Linked DNA regions of Homo sapiens: region 2 is linked to region 1. The links are contacts of gene promoters, found by promoter capture Hi-C in human tissues and cell types (Jung and others, 2019). All regions are on one chromosome and are shown on one strand. Each heading gives the region's core, a stretch centred on a gene start or on the middle of the fragment in contact. The rest is flanking DNA. Distances are from core to core; before and after follow the strand shown. Region 1 holds the start of TOE1 (target of EGR1, exonuclease). Region 2 overlaps MAST2 (microtubule associated serine/threonine kinase 2).

Evidence for each region. The method cuts DNA at HindIII sites, captures the fragments that hold promoters and counts their contacts. A contact is called where the count stands out against the background at its distance.
Region 2: a contact is called between a fragment that was not itself captured here and the fragment with the promoter of TOE1 in region 1, in 1 of the 25 tissues and cell types used here (hippocampus).

Annotation. Positions count from the first base shown.
Region 1 is chr1:45,337,788-45,343,698 of GRCh38, reverse strand. It overlaps TOE1 (target of EGR1, exonuclease), which reads right to left and starts at 3,529. Exons shown (of 8, transcript NM_025077.4): 1 at 3,395-3,529; 2 at 2,484-2,626; 3 at 2,356-2,396; 4 at 2,130-2,226; 5 at 1,592-1,750; 6 at 1,056-1,315; 7 at 697-856; 8 at 1-617. The coding sequence starts at 3,446. It overlaps MUTYH (mutY DNA glycosylase), which reads left to right and starts at 3,729. Exons shown (of 16, transcript NM_001048174.2): 1 at 3,729-3,800. RefSeq lists enhancers at 2,204-2,870, 3,169-3,518, 2,871-3,539, 3,540-4,207. The HindIII fragment of the contact is 1,117 bases long and covers 2,560-3,676 here.
Region 2 is chr1:45,861,581-45,867,491 of GRCh38, reverse strand. The region is part of intron 3 of MAST2 (microtubule associated serine/threonine kinase 2); the gene reads right to left. Among named protein-coding and RNA genes, the nearest start is that of MAST2, 61 kb to the right of the region's middle. The HindIII fragment of the contact is 3,476 bases long and covers 1,165-4,640 here.

The DNA.
Region 1 (5,911 bases), core at 2,280-4,779:
CTACTGCCCCAAGTGAGCTTCATCTTCTGATTGTGGGCTTTGGAGGAACGAGAGAACTGGCTCTTGGCCACTGTGAGGGGTACAGCTTTGCCACTCAAATATACCTTATTGTGGCATTCAGGGAGCCAGGGTCCAGAGCTGCAGGGCTGCGGTCCCTGGCTCACTTCCACATAGGCCATCACATAACCTGTCATAAAGGCATCAAAACCAGCCCGGTGCAATCCATCCCCAGGCACTGGGTTAGGACTGGCTTGGCTCCCTGGCACTTCTGAGGTAGCTCTATCAGCTATTTCAGGCCTTGCTGCCTTAATCCCCATCTCTAAGTCATTTTTGTTGCCTTGCTTGGAGTGAGGCAGGTTCCTAGTTTCATCGGCAGCCACCTCCTGCTCGGTTTCTTCAGGCTTGATGCTATCCCCACAGACCTGCTTCTTGGGAGGACCATCCTTAGCTTCCCCAGAGGTCTGTGTCCCCGGTAGGTTCAATAAAGCCCTCTTCCGTTTTTCCCTACGTCGTCGCCGTCGCCGCTTGTCCTCTGCCGCAGCCTCATCAGTGTCAATGATAAGGTCAATATCGTGAGACTGAGGACACTGTGGTCCCAGGGGGCACCAGCCATAAGCCTAGGGGTGGGAAAGAGGCTTAGAAAGAGGCTCCAGGCATCAGAACCTTCCCTCCCAAGAAACAGGTGGGTGCTCTCACCGAGAAGTTGTCACAGATGCTGGTGGGATGAGGACGGTGGGTTGCTGGGGGCAGGCAGCAGCGGTAATCAATATGGTCCCTCATGCTGGAAGGATAGTTGCAGAACTCCAGGGTAAGGTGTGGGCTGCCAGCTGCCCGCTGCTTCCCATTTTCCCGTTCACTGCAACAGCGCAAGAGGGTAATGGTCCACTAGCATATAAGCTCCATAAGAGCAGGGTTTTGTGGTCTGTTTTGTTCACTGCTGAATCCTCAGCACCTAAAACACTGCCTGGGCACATGGTAGGAGCTCAATAAATATCTTAAGTGAATGAAATAAACTCGTATCAGGCCCCACCCCTTTCCCTCAACCATTTCCTCACCATTTCCGGAAGGCATATTCTAAGTAGGAGGCCACGAAACGGGCATGAAACTCAGCAGCATATTTGGTGTCATAAATGCCTGCTGGGAACATCTCACACAGGTCAGCGGTGAAGGTTCCCAGACTCTCAGGGAGGTGTGCATAGAAGTTCTGGTACAGGAACACCAAGTCTATAAGGCCATTGTGTAGCACCAGGGGCCGGCGGGCTCGGATTAGCTCCAGGAATAGGGTCCGTACTGACTGGCTCTGGCTCTCATCACCCTAGATGAAAGTAAAGGGGTCAATGAGGAGGACAGAGTCCCCCAGGGAGCCTCTTCTGCTGGGCACTTATCCCAGACTTCCCCACTTGGAACGCTCTCTCTCTACCTTACCCAATGCTGCCCACCCTCCTCATACCAGTCTTGTTTCCCAAGCCCTGTCACTAGTGATTCCCCATACTCCCTAAGAAGCAGATTCTCCCCAGACATCCAGCCTAGGGTAGGAAGAAATAAAGTCACAGAAAGGGCAGACTCAAGGCTAGGGAGGCTAGAGGCCTACCTTGTCATTGCCCTTATGGTAGGGGATGCCTTGGGCATACTGCTGGTTGAAGTTGAAGCCATGCTGTATCAGGAACTGCACAGACTTTGGTTCTATGACATACTCCTCCATGCACAGCAGAGTGAGATTGAACACTTGAGCCAGATAGGAATGTTCACCCTGGGAGAAAGAGAAGTCTGCTATATCAAGATTTCAGAGAGCCAAGCTAGGAGGATGCAAAAGCTTAAGAATGATACAATGGACTCTGGGGACTCAGGGGGGAAAGGATGGAGGCAGGTGAGGGATAAAAGACTACGCATTGGGCACAGTGTACACTGGGTGATAGGTGCACCAAAATCTCAGAAATTGCCACTAAAGAACTTACTCATTTAACCAAACACCACCTGTTCCCCATAAACCTATTCAAATAAAAAAAAAAAAACTATCAAGTCAAAAAAAAAGATTTGGGAGAGAAATGCTTCCTATCTGATGTTCCCTAGAATCTCTCTACCCTCCACCCCACAGCCACACCTAGGATTGGGGTGAGATCAGCTCATACCTTGTCTGGCTGCCGCTTGAAGCAGGCGAGGCCCAGGGAAAGGATAGAACGGGTCCTGGCAGCATGACACACGGCCTTGTAACGTTCCTCAATGCACCTTGGGGTTGGGTATGGGGGTTGCTGTGGCTAGGAGTTAGCCTTATGAAGGACCCAAACCACCCAGGTCTGTGACCCCCCCACTCCACAGTTGAGGGCTGGCACTAAAGAGAAAAGGGCTTATACTTACTGGTTCAGCAAACTCTTCCTGTCCCCAAGCCCACTCAGCTCCTGTGGGTAGGTAAAGGGAGAGTTGTGACAGGCCTCTAGCACCAGCCCCTTCACAACCACCTGCCCTCCTTGTTTCCCAACTCTCACCGTGTCCACAGCCACGAAATTAGCTGTCTTTATGGCTAGCAGGAGGGATGGCCACATCTCCTTGAAGTTGTTGCTTTGCACATCCACTACGGGAACCTGGACTACTAGCTCCTCCCCAGATGTTGTGCTTTTGCTGACACCACCTGGGGGTTAGGAGGGTGATGGATGTTCATGCTTAAGGAAAGAGCCCAGGGGAACAGACACCAAGCTAGGCCACGGTGATGGTGGTAAGGGGGGTAGTTTCCATTGGTAGCTTTTCCCACAAGCCTTTGTAACCCACGTGTTCTACACACAGGCCTTGGAGTGGAGAATGCCCTGAATTTGGGGAGAGGAAGCCTGAGTCTTCTACTGGCTTGTATGAGCCTGGGTAAATTACTTCCCACCTCGCTTTCACAATCTGTAGAGGAGAAAGTTGGACTAGACGACCTTTGATTCTTTTTTCCCATGTCCTGCAGGAAACATTTTGTAGGGCTTGAGGATCTCAGCTCCCTTAATATCCCACAGGGATCCATACTACTGTTCTCATGGTGCCCCAGCGCCACAAGCAACAGCTCCCAGTAAGCCCCAGAGCCTGGCAGTGCCCCACACCAGAGCTCCCAATACGTCCTACCTTCCTTTGGATCACAACGCTCAATCCACTCCACTGAACTGAATCACAACTATTACTACTAACCGTTATGAGCTCCAGACTACATCTCCCGCCATGCCTCCATCAGCCCCATGCTCCCAACGCTCCAGGCTTTTGCAGCCGGAGCCGCGGTGTACAACGGAACTTGTAGTCTCCTCGTGGCTAGTTCAGGCGGAAGGAGCAGTCCTCTGAAGCTTGAGGAGCCTCTAGAACTATGAGCCCGAGGCCTTCCCCTCTCCCAGAGCGCAGAGGCTTTGAAGGCTACCTCTGGGAAGCCGCTCACCGTCGGAAGCTGCGGGAGCTGAAACTGCGCCATCGTCACTGTCGGCGGCCATGACACCGCTCGTCTCCCGCCTGAGTCGTCTGTGGGTACGCTGGACTTGCGGTCCGTCTCCTGGCGCGGTTCAGGCAGTCGGGGATGGGGCGGGGTCTCGCCGTCGGGTCGCCGATGGGTCGAACTTCCGTTCAGACGTCCCGGGTCCGGCGCGGGGAAGGCAGCCTGGCGCGCGCTAATTGCCTATTGGCCTGTGCTGCCGGCTCGCAGCCCGGGTGGACCCGAGCCACGCCCCCTGGAGTGCGCCGGAAAGCCGGGCGCGCTAGAGCTCGCGGGAGGTAATCTTTCTCTCCTGCTCTCGCGGCGGGAACGCGGGGCCTCCGTGTTCTGCTGTCTTCATCAGCGTGGGCCGCGGGTAGCGGGTAGTGGGGTGGCTGGGTTTGGGCTTTCCAGAGAAGGTGACGCTGCCTGAGCTGAGCTTAAAGCACGCCCAGGAGTTAGACTAGGAGAGGGTCGTGTGGGGGAAAGAAGGGCGTTCTGGGCATCGGTAAATTCCCAGAGAGGATGGAGAGCTCAGTGATCTCCAGAAAGTGAAAGAGGCGGGGAGTGGGCCATCGGAGGAGGCTGCCCAGGGTGTAAGAGCGACCGATTGGTAGGGAAGCTTTTGTAATAATCCAATCAAGTGATAATGTGAACTTGAATTAAGGCTGGCAGTATGGATGGCGAGGAAGGGACAAATTGTGAAGCAGCTAGGCGGTATAGTCGACCTAGAGGGTGATTGAATTTGAAAGAGGTTCCTAGGCCGGGCGCGGTGGCTCACGCCTGTAATCCCAGCACTTTGGGAGGCCGAGGCGGGCGGATTACCTGAGGTCCGGAGTTCAAAACCAGCCTGGCCAACATGGTGAAACCCCGTCTCTACTAAAAGTACAAAAAAAATTAGCTGGGTATGGTGCGGGCGCCTGTAATCCCACTACTTGGGAGGCTGAGGCAGGAGAATCGCTTGAACCTGGGAGGCAGAGGTTGCGGTGAGCCGAGATCACGCCATTTTGCACTTCAGCCTAGGCAACAAGAGCGAAACTCCGTCTCAAAAAAAAAAAAAAAAAAAAAATTCCTATTGGAGACTAGTCCCTCCGTAAACACTACGATTCCCATCCACCTCTGCCTTCCAGTGCTCCTTTGTTACTCATTGTTTATAGTTAATCTTCAGCTTCTCTCAACTGAGCCCATTTCATCATTATTCAGAACTGCTTGGGCCGGGCGCAGTGGCTTATGGCCTGTAATCATCTTAGGAGGCCAAGGTGGGAGGATCGCTTGACCCTAGGAGTTCAAGACTAGCCTGGGCAACATAGTGAAACCTTGTCTCTACAAAAAGAAAATTAAAAATTAGTTGGGCATGGTGGTGCGCACCTGTAGTCCCAGCTACAGGAGGCTGAGGTGAGAGGATGGCTTGAGCCCAGGAGGTCGAGGCTGCAGTGAGCCATGTTCTTATTGCACTCCAGCCTGAGTGGCAGAGCAGCAAAGTGAGGGACACACTGTCTCTAAAAACAAAACAAACAAACAAAAAAAAAACAAAAATAAAAAAACTCTTTGGATTTCTCCTATCCTAAAAAAGGGAAACTCTTTTGACTATCCCCCATCCCATTAATTCATTTAACAGGTATCTATTGTGTACAGTTTACCTGGCACTGACTTTGGACACACACCAATCAACAAGAGAATCAGTCCTTGCACTCAAGTCGTTTTTTACAGTCAAATTCAGGAAGTACACACTGATGGAAAGAATCAAAGTAATGTAAAATTACATTAGGTAAGAGCTACAAGGCAGAAATATGTGATAGGATAAGATGAGGGGACCTGATTTGGACATTTCAGTCAAGACTTGAAAAATGATAAGGTGTTAGGTAAAAGCATAAAAGAGTCCAAACAGAGGAAATGGATTGTGTGAGGCCCCAAGGTGGGCAGACACACTTGAGGTGTTTAAGCAACTAAATTCAGTCAACCTTGGCTAGAGCATAGTGAGGGGATGAGGCGGATGGTGCCCGGATCACTGGACCTGCAAGGCTGTAGTAAGAGGACTGCCTTCTAAGAGCAAGGGTGTGGCAGCCAAATCCCTCCAATGGCCTATAAGGTACTTTGTGACCCTCCTCTCCCCACCTCATCTGGTTTACTTCTCTGACCTCTTCTACCACTCAGTCCCATCTCATTCCATTCTAACCACATTGACCTACTTACTGTACCACAGACATACCAGGCACCCTCCTTGGGGCCTTTGCACTCACTTAGAATGCTTTGGGTCTACCTTGACCACAGTCTTTAAAATTGCAACATTAAACCCCACCTTGGCACTCTTTTTTTTCCCCTCTTGGTCTAATTTTTGCTTTTTATGCTAATATTTATCACCTAACATCTTATGGAATTTACTTATGTTCATTATTCCTTTTCTGTCCCCATTAGAATATAAGCTCCCTGAGGGCAGGAACTTTTGATGTTTTATTTACTGAAGTATGCCAAGTGCCTAAAACTGCT
Region 2 (5,911 bases), core at 1,653-4,152, 520 kb before region 1:
TGAACAAAATAGACAAGGTCTTTGCTGTCACGGAACTTCTAAATGCCCTATTTACTATTCTGCTACCTCCCCAAGAAACTCTGCGGAAAAACCTGGAGGTATCAAAGTAGGCTGTGTCTTAGCTGATCTTCTGGAAAAGTTTTAGGAAATCTATTTCACCAGAAAGCAATTAGCGAAGCCAAATATTTATTTGGATTTTCACCTTCAAATCTGAGGTTACCCAGTAGATTACCTGTACCACCAGGCACACTTTACCTTTGTGTGTTTATTTATATAAATCTATTAATAAAACTTACCTTTAAATCTTTATATTATAATGTAACTATTTAAAACAAATAATCTAAACTGCTGCTTTTCAAGCGTTAGCTCTGTTTTGGAATGTTCCAAAGCAATCTTCTGGAGAATGAACCTTAAAGTTTATTTTTTAAAAATAGGCAAAATAGGCTGGGTGCGGTGGCTCACATCTGCAATCCCAGCAATTGGGAGGCCGAGGCGGGTGGATCACCTGAGGTCAGGAGTTTGAGACCCGGCTGGCCAACATGGTGAAACACCGTCTCTACTAAAAATACAAAAAATTAGCCAGGTGTGGTGGCACATGCCTGTAATGCCCCAGCTACTCGACTCCGGAGGCAGAGGCAGGAGAATCACTTGAACCTGGGAGGCAGAGGTTGCAATGAGCCAAGATCACGCCACTGCACCTCCAGCCTGGGTGACAGAGTGAGACTCCATCTCAAAAAAAAAAAAGTAGACAAAATAAATAGGGGAAAAATTTTTTATAAGTATAAGGCTGTAGGAAAAGATCTTCCAGTGCTATGTAATCTGGCAGTTTAGAACTCCTGCTAGATAGAAACAAAGACTCGAGAGGAAGGGCATCAGTAAACAAGGTAGCAAATACTAGAGACTGACTCAGGCATCAGGGAGAAAATGAATGATTTAACACAAAACAGAAAATATTTCCCATTCAACAAATAGGATTCCCTTTCTGAATCCTAGCAACTAAAGAGAAATAAAGATATAAATAAGCAGTGCAACTAAATGGGCTTACAGAGCCAGCCATTTTTAATTAGCAGCTGCTTGAACATACATCACTACTTATGAGAGGTCATCTGAGTACAGTACTAAATAAATACTACTCAAAATAACCCCAAGAAATCAAGGGACAAATCTCATCGAATCAACTGTGCTAACAGGAGAAATTAGTATAAGGCGCTGGAGTTTATGTTATTGACTTTTAAAGCCCAGGTCATACTGGTCAACTGCTAAAGATTCAGTGGGTTCTCCCTACGGGCTCTGAATGTTTACAGCACCATCAATAAGAAGTACATATAATAACTAGAAACAATACAATTTGTTTAAATTTATATTTTAAGTTTACTAATCCTATACATTTTCTACCTGAGAACTTTAAAGAAACTAAAATAATGTTAATTCATGATAATTTTAAAATCCTTAGGTATTTTGTACAAAAAAAGTGCTTTATAAATAATGTCAAATAAACAAAATGAAAACAACAGAAATAGCTACATTTCATGACTAAACCATCACAGGTTGATTGATTAGCTCAGTGATTTACACTAGAATCTTCATTATGTCAATTCTCAAAAACATTTAGTGATAGACTAGAAGCTGGCTTGCTCTTTGCTAACAAGACTAAGATGAGATAATCTACAAAGCATGAAAAAAATAATCATCAAATTTGGCATGTATTCTTTTAGTGCTAAGGATATTCATTAAAACTCAGTTGAAGGTTGCCTATCAGTCTATTTTCATTCACTGTTATATCTTACATACCTCTTCATCTAACAAACTACCTATGATTTAAGAAGGAAAAGATGGTAGGTAGGTAGGTAGGTAGACAGACAGACGGATGGATGGACAGACAACACAGACAGACAATAGATAAGTGGATGGAATGTGTATATGCCAAGTGATAATTTAGAAAAGTTCTTAAAACTATGCATAGAATCAAGCATATACTACCATACATGTGACTTAATGGTGGGCAGATCAGGCATGGTGGTCAGGAACAGAATATGTTCACCGTAAACAATCTGTCAGCAGTAATGTCTAATGTTCTAAATTAGGCTTGTATCCCATACAGGTCTGATTTAGTTGCTCTACTCACTAAATACAGTGTAAATAAGCCCAAGCAGCATTTTTCTATCAAAATAGCAAGATTTTAGATAAGTTCTCTAATTATAACTATACATCAAAGAATAAAGAGGAACTTAGCTGCACTCCACTCTGCCTCCTACCTCAAATGAATTAAATACATTATAACAATCTGTTCAGTACATTTACAAGAGACATTAAAAGGAAGGAGATCAGTGAAAAAGGTTTTCTTTTACTCACCTGTAACCCTCTCCTTCTCAGAATACTGGAATCATCCATAATAGATATCAGACAAAAAAAAGCCACTCCCCAGACAGTCAACTACTAGTGCCTACTTACTGCTGGATAAAGAGGCAAACAATCCTTTCAGCACACCACTAACCCACTGTTCCACTAAACCAGTTATCCCTCTGTCCAGCGTAAGTATACAATCACTGCCTCATATCAGAATCACGTCTTTCTTCACAGAAGTATAGATACATCTCATCTGAAGCACTGCCAAATAGCGGAAAGACTTCATATTTGTTTTCATTTTCCATGCATACCCCTTTGGTTGAAATTATTTGAAGTACTAAGAAAAGAACAAAAGGTTCCGGGGGAAAAATTCCAATCTTTGATATCCTGACTTTGCTGCTTATTAAAAAGGTTTAGCAAACAAAACAAGAGTCTCCACCTACAGCTACTAAGCTTATAAAATCCATGTCACGTTTTCCTTTCCAGAAACAAAACCACTCCACATACGTTTTTAAAAAGATGACAATTCTTCAGAAATACAAAGAAAAACATACGATTCTGATGCCTGTATTTTAGACTCAAAATGATATAAAACCAGTTATTGTTTTGACTAAGTCGGCAAAATTCCTTTCATCCTTTGTACAGACAAAGCAAATGTCAGATTCTTTCGATACTGTCAGGGGCTCTTTTGTTTCTTTATCGCTAGACTCACTGGTCTTCACTTCTTGGACAGTAACGAAAGCCTCTTTCTTCAGGAGCTAGATCATTGCTAAGGTCGGTTTCCCTGCTCTTTTATGTGCAGGAGGGGGCTAGTCCACGTGTTGTGAGTTCTGAGCATGGACAAATTCATTCAGCTGTTTATCACTTACAGTGCTGTCACAGGAAACGCTCCCCATTCCCCCAGACTTCTAAAAGGGCACAGCATGAAAAAGTCTCATTTTATCCAAGCTTTAATGATCTCAAGAATTGTTTCTTTGGTTACTGGCTGCCATTTTTAAAGTAGAACTTCAGCCAAGTTTAAAGATGCTTCTGTTTCTTAATTCATGGCTCAAAATACATAATCTTTTAGATTTTAAGAGTGAAAGATTGTTCTCATGATATGATTCTGTTCCTTACACACTCCATAAGCAACGTTTAAACTTTCCAACTTTATGGTAATTGTCAGAATCTTAGTAAACACAAAGGAAAGTTGCTGATCTTTCTAACAAGTCACACACACAAAATTGTTAGTGAAGGCAGCATTATATTTTTAGGAAGTGAGTTTAACACATTAAATTCAATCATTTTTTCCAAACTATAAGACATGCTACAATAATTACTCTCCTACAAAATTCAGGAGACACGAATCCAAATTCCCTAATTTGACAGATAAAGGTATGTATAAAGCACACAATCAGCCAGTTATACTACCTAAGGTGTAAATATAGCAATAGCTAAAGGCCAGATTCAGTCTGCACCCAAAAAGGAAGAAAAGCAGTCCCTCCTATAATTATGACAGCTGCAACCAACAGTCTAGGGCTTGAAGGAAAGTCTATTTACAAGATCATTTTCTGGTCTTTTTACAACTGATTATAGTCATAAGAAATTGCCACACTGCTGAAAATAGCACAAAAAACAGGATCCATGTCCCTTTCATTCAGCAGAAATCTTCTAATCCTTAGCATAACCAGTGTGGTCTTTCATTGTGAGAGCTAATAAATCCACATTTCCACGGATTCCTTCTCCCATCTGCTGCTTTGAATAACTAACGGCTGGATTATGTCTATGGGGAAAACAAACACAAGACCTGAACAGACAGCTGATTTGCATAGGGTATGCTGTACACTGTATGAGTGTCTGCAAAGTCATAGGCCTTTAAAGTCATAGAACTCCTCTATCAAAATAGGTTTAACTAGCTAAAACATATGTATCAGCAGAGAGGAAGTAGGAGTGGCTTCTAATTTATTCAACCCGGTAATCAGTAAAAATATAAAAAAGATGCATTCTGAGAAGCTATTCAGACAAAAGATTCAAAATTCAAACTCTTTATTCATTTACTAATTCAAGAACCATTTATTTTGCCAACCACTGAGATAGGGATGAGGAAAGATTACCAAAATCAACATTAACCATAAACTAATAATCCTATTCTAGAAGAGCTAAAATCCAATGGGGAAGCCAAATACAAACAAGTAATTATGACACATGAGAAGTGTGCTAAAAGGTATGACAAAGTGCTATGGGAGTGTCAAAGAAGGCTCAATTCATTATAGTGGAAAGCCTACAAAAAGGCTTCAAGTGGAAGTGCCATTTGGTCACTAAAACTAACGTTATGGGATTATCAACCTTTCACCAAGACAGGTTTCCTTTCCCAAAACGTTGTACACAGCTTAAAAATCTTCAACCTGGCCAGGTGCAGTGGCTCACCCAGCACTTTGGGAGGCCGAGGCAAGTGGATCATCTGAGGTCAGGAGTTCGAGACCAGCCTGGCCAACAAGGCAAAACCGTGTTTCTACTAAAAATACAAAAATTAGCCAGGCATGATGGCAGGCAGCTGTAATCCCAACTACTTGGGAGGCTGAGGCAGAAAAATCATTCAAACCCAAGAGGCAGAGGTTGCAGAGCTGAGATCGTGCCACTGCACTCCAGCCACTCAAGGTTAAAAAAAAAAAAAAAAAATCTTCAGTCCTCACTATCTAAAAAATTAAGTAAAAAACGTCTCCCCTTGGCATTCAAGACACGCCATATCATGGAAACAACAGATTTTATCTTCAGTAGTACCTTATTGTAACTTAACCTTCCAATTGGAAAGAACAAGGCACAGTTTCCTGAACATACCCCATCTTTCCCCACCTCAAATCCTTTGTGGATAAACAAGAATACAACCATCTACCTTATAAGGTTGTTGAAAGGAATCATTTATGAAACATGTATGAATGATTCACAACTTTTTTCAGTATCTCTCACAGAGTAGTGTGTAACCTGCTCAAAATTTCCTGCCACAACCTGGTTTCCTTAAAGCCTGTTTGGTTCTCAAAATTTATGCAAATTTTGCATTCTTCTCTGTAAGATAATAAACCTTTATTTGTTTATGTTACAGTAATATTTGTAGTAACTGATTAAACTGTAGGAAACAGAAGAAGAGTAACCAGAGAGGTGGAAGGAAATCAAGACTGCAAATGCTATTAAAGAAGCCAAGAAAAGATAGTCAGGGACTGCTGAACAAATGCTGCCTGGAGGCCCATCATTAAAGAATGTCATCCAATTTAACTGACTTGAAGTCAACTGGTACCCTTTGTAGGAACAATTTCAGGAGTGGAGGAGTGGTAGGAGCAAAAGCCCAACTCCAGTGGGTAGGAGATGAGGAAATAAAGACAGTGAATCTAGACAACTCTTCCAGCTTGCATTTAACTCTCCATACTCTCTGCAGCCAAAGTTCTCAAAAAAAAAGTTATTCTTGAAAAGGAAGGGAGGGGATTGAGAGCATAAACAGTGATAGAAGGAATATTTCTTCCACCACAAAAGATGAAAAGGAAGGAAGGGGATTGAGAGCATAAACAGTGATAGAAGGAATATTTCTTCCACC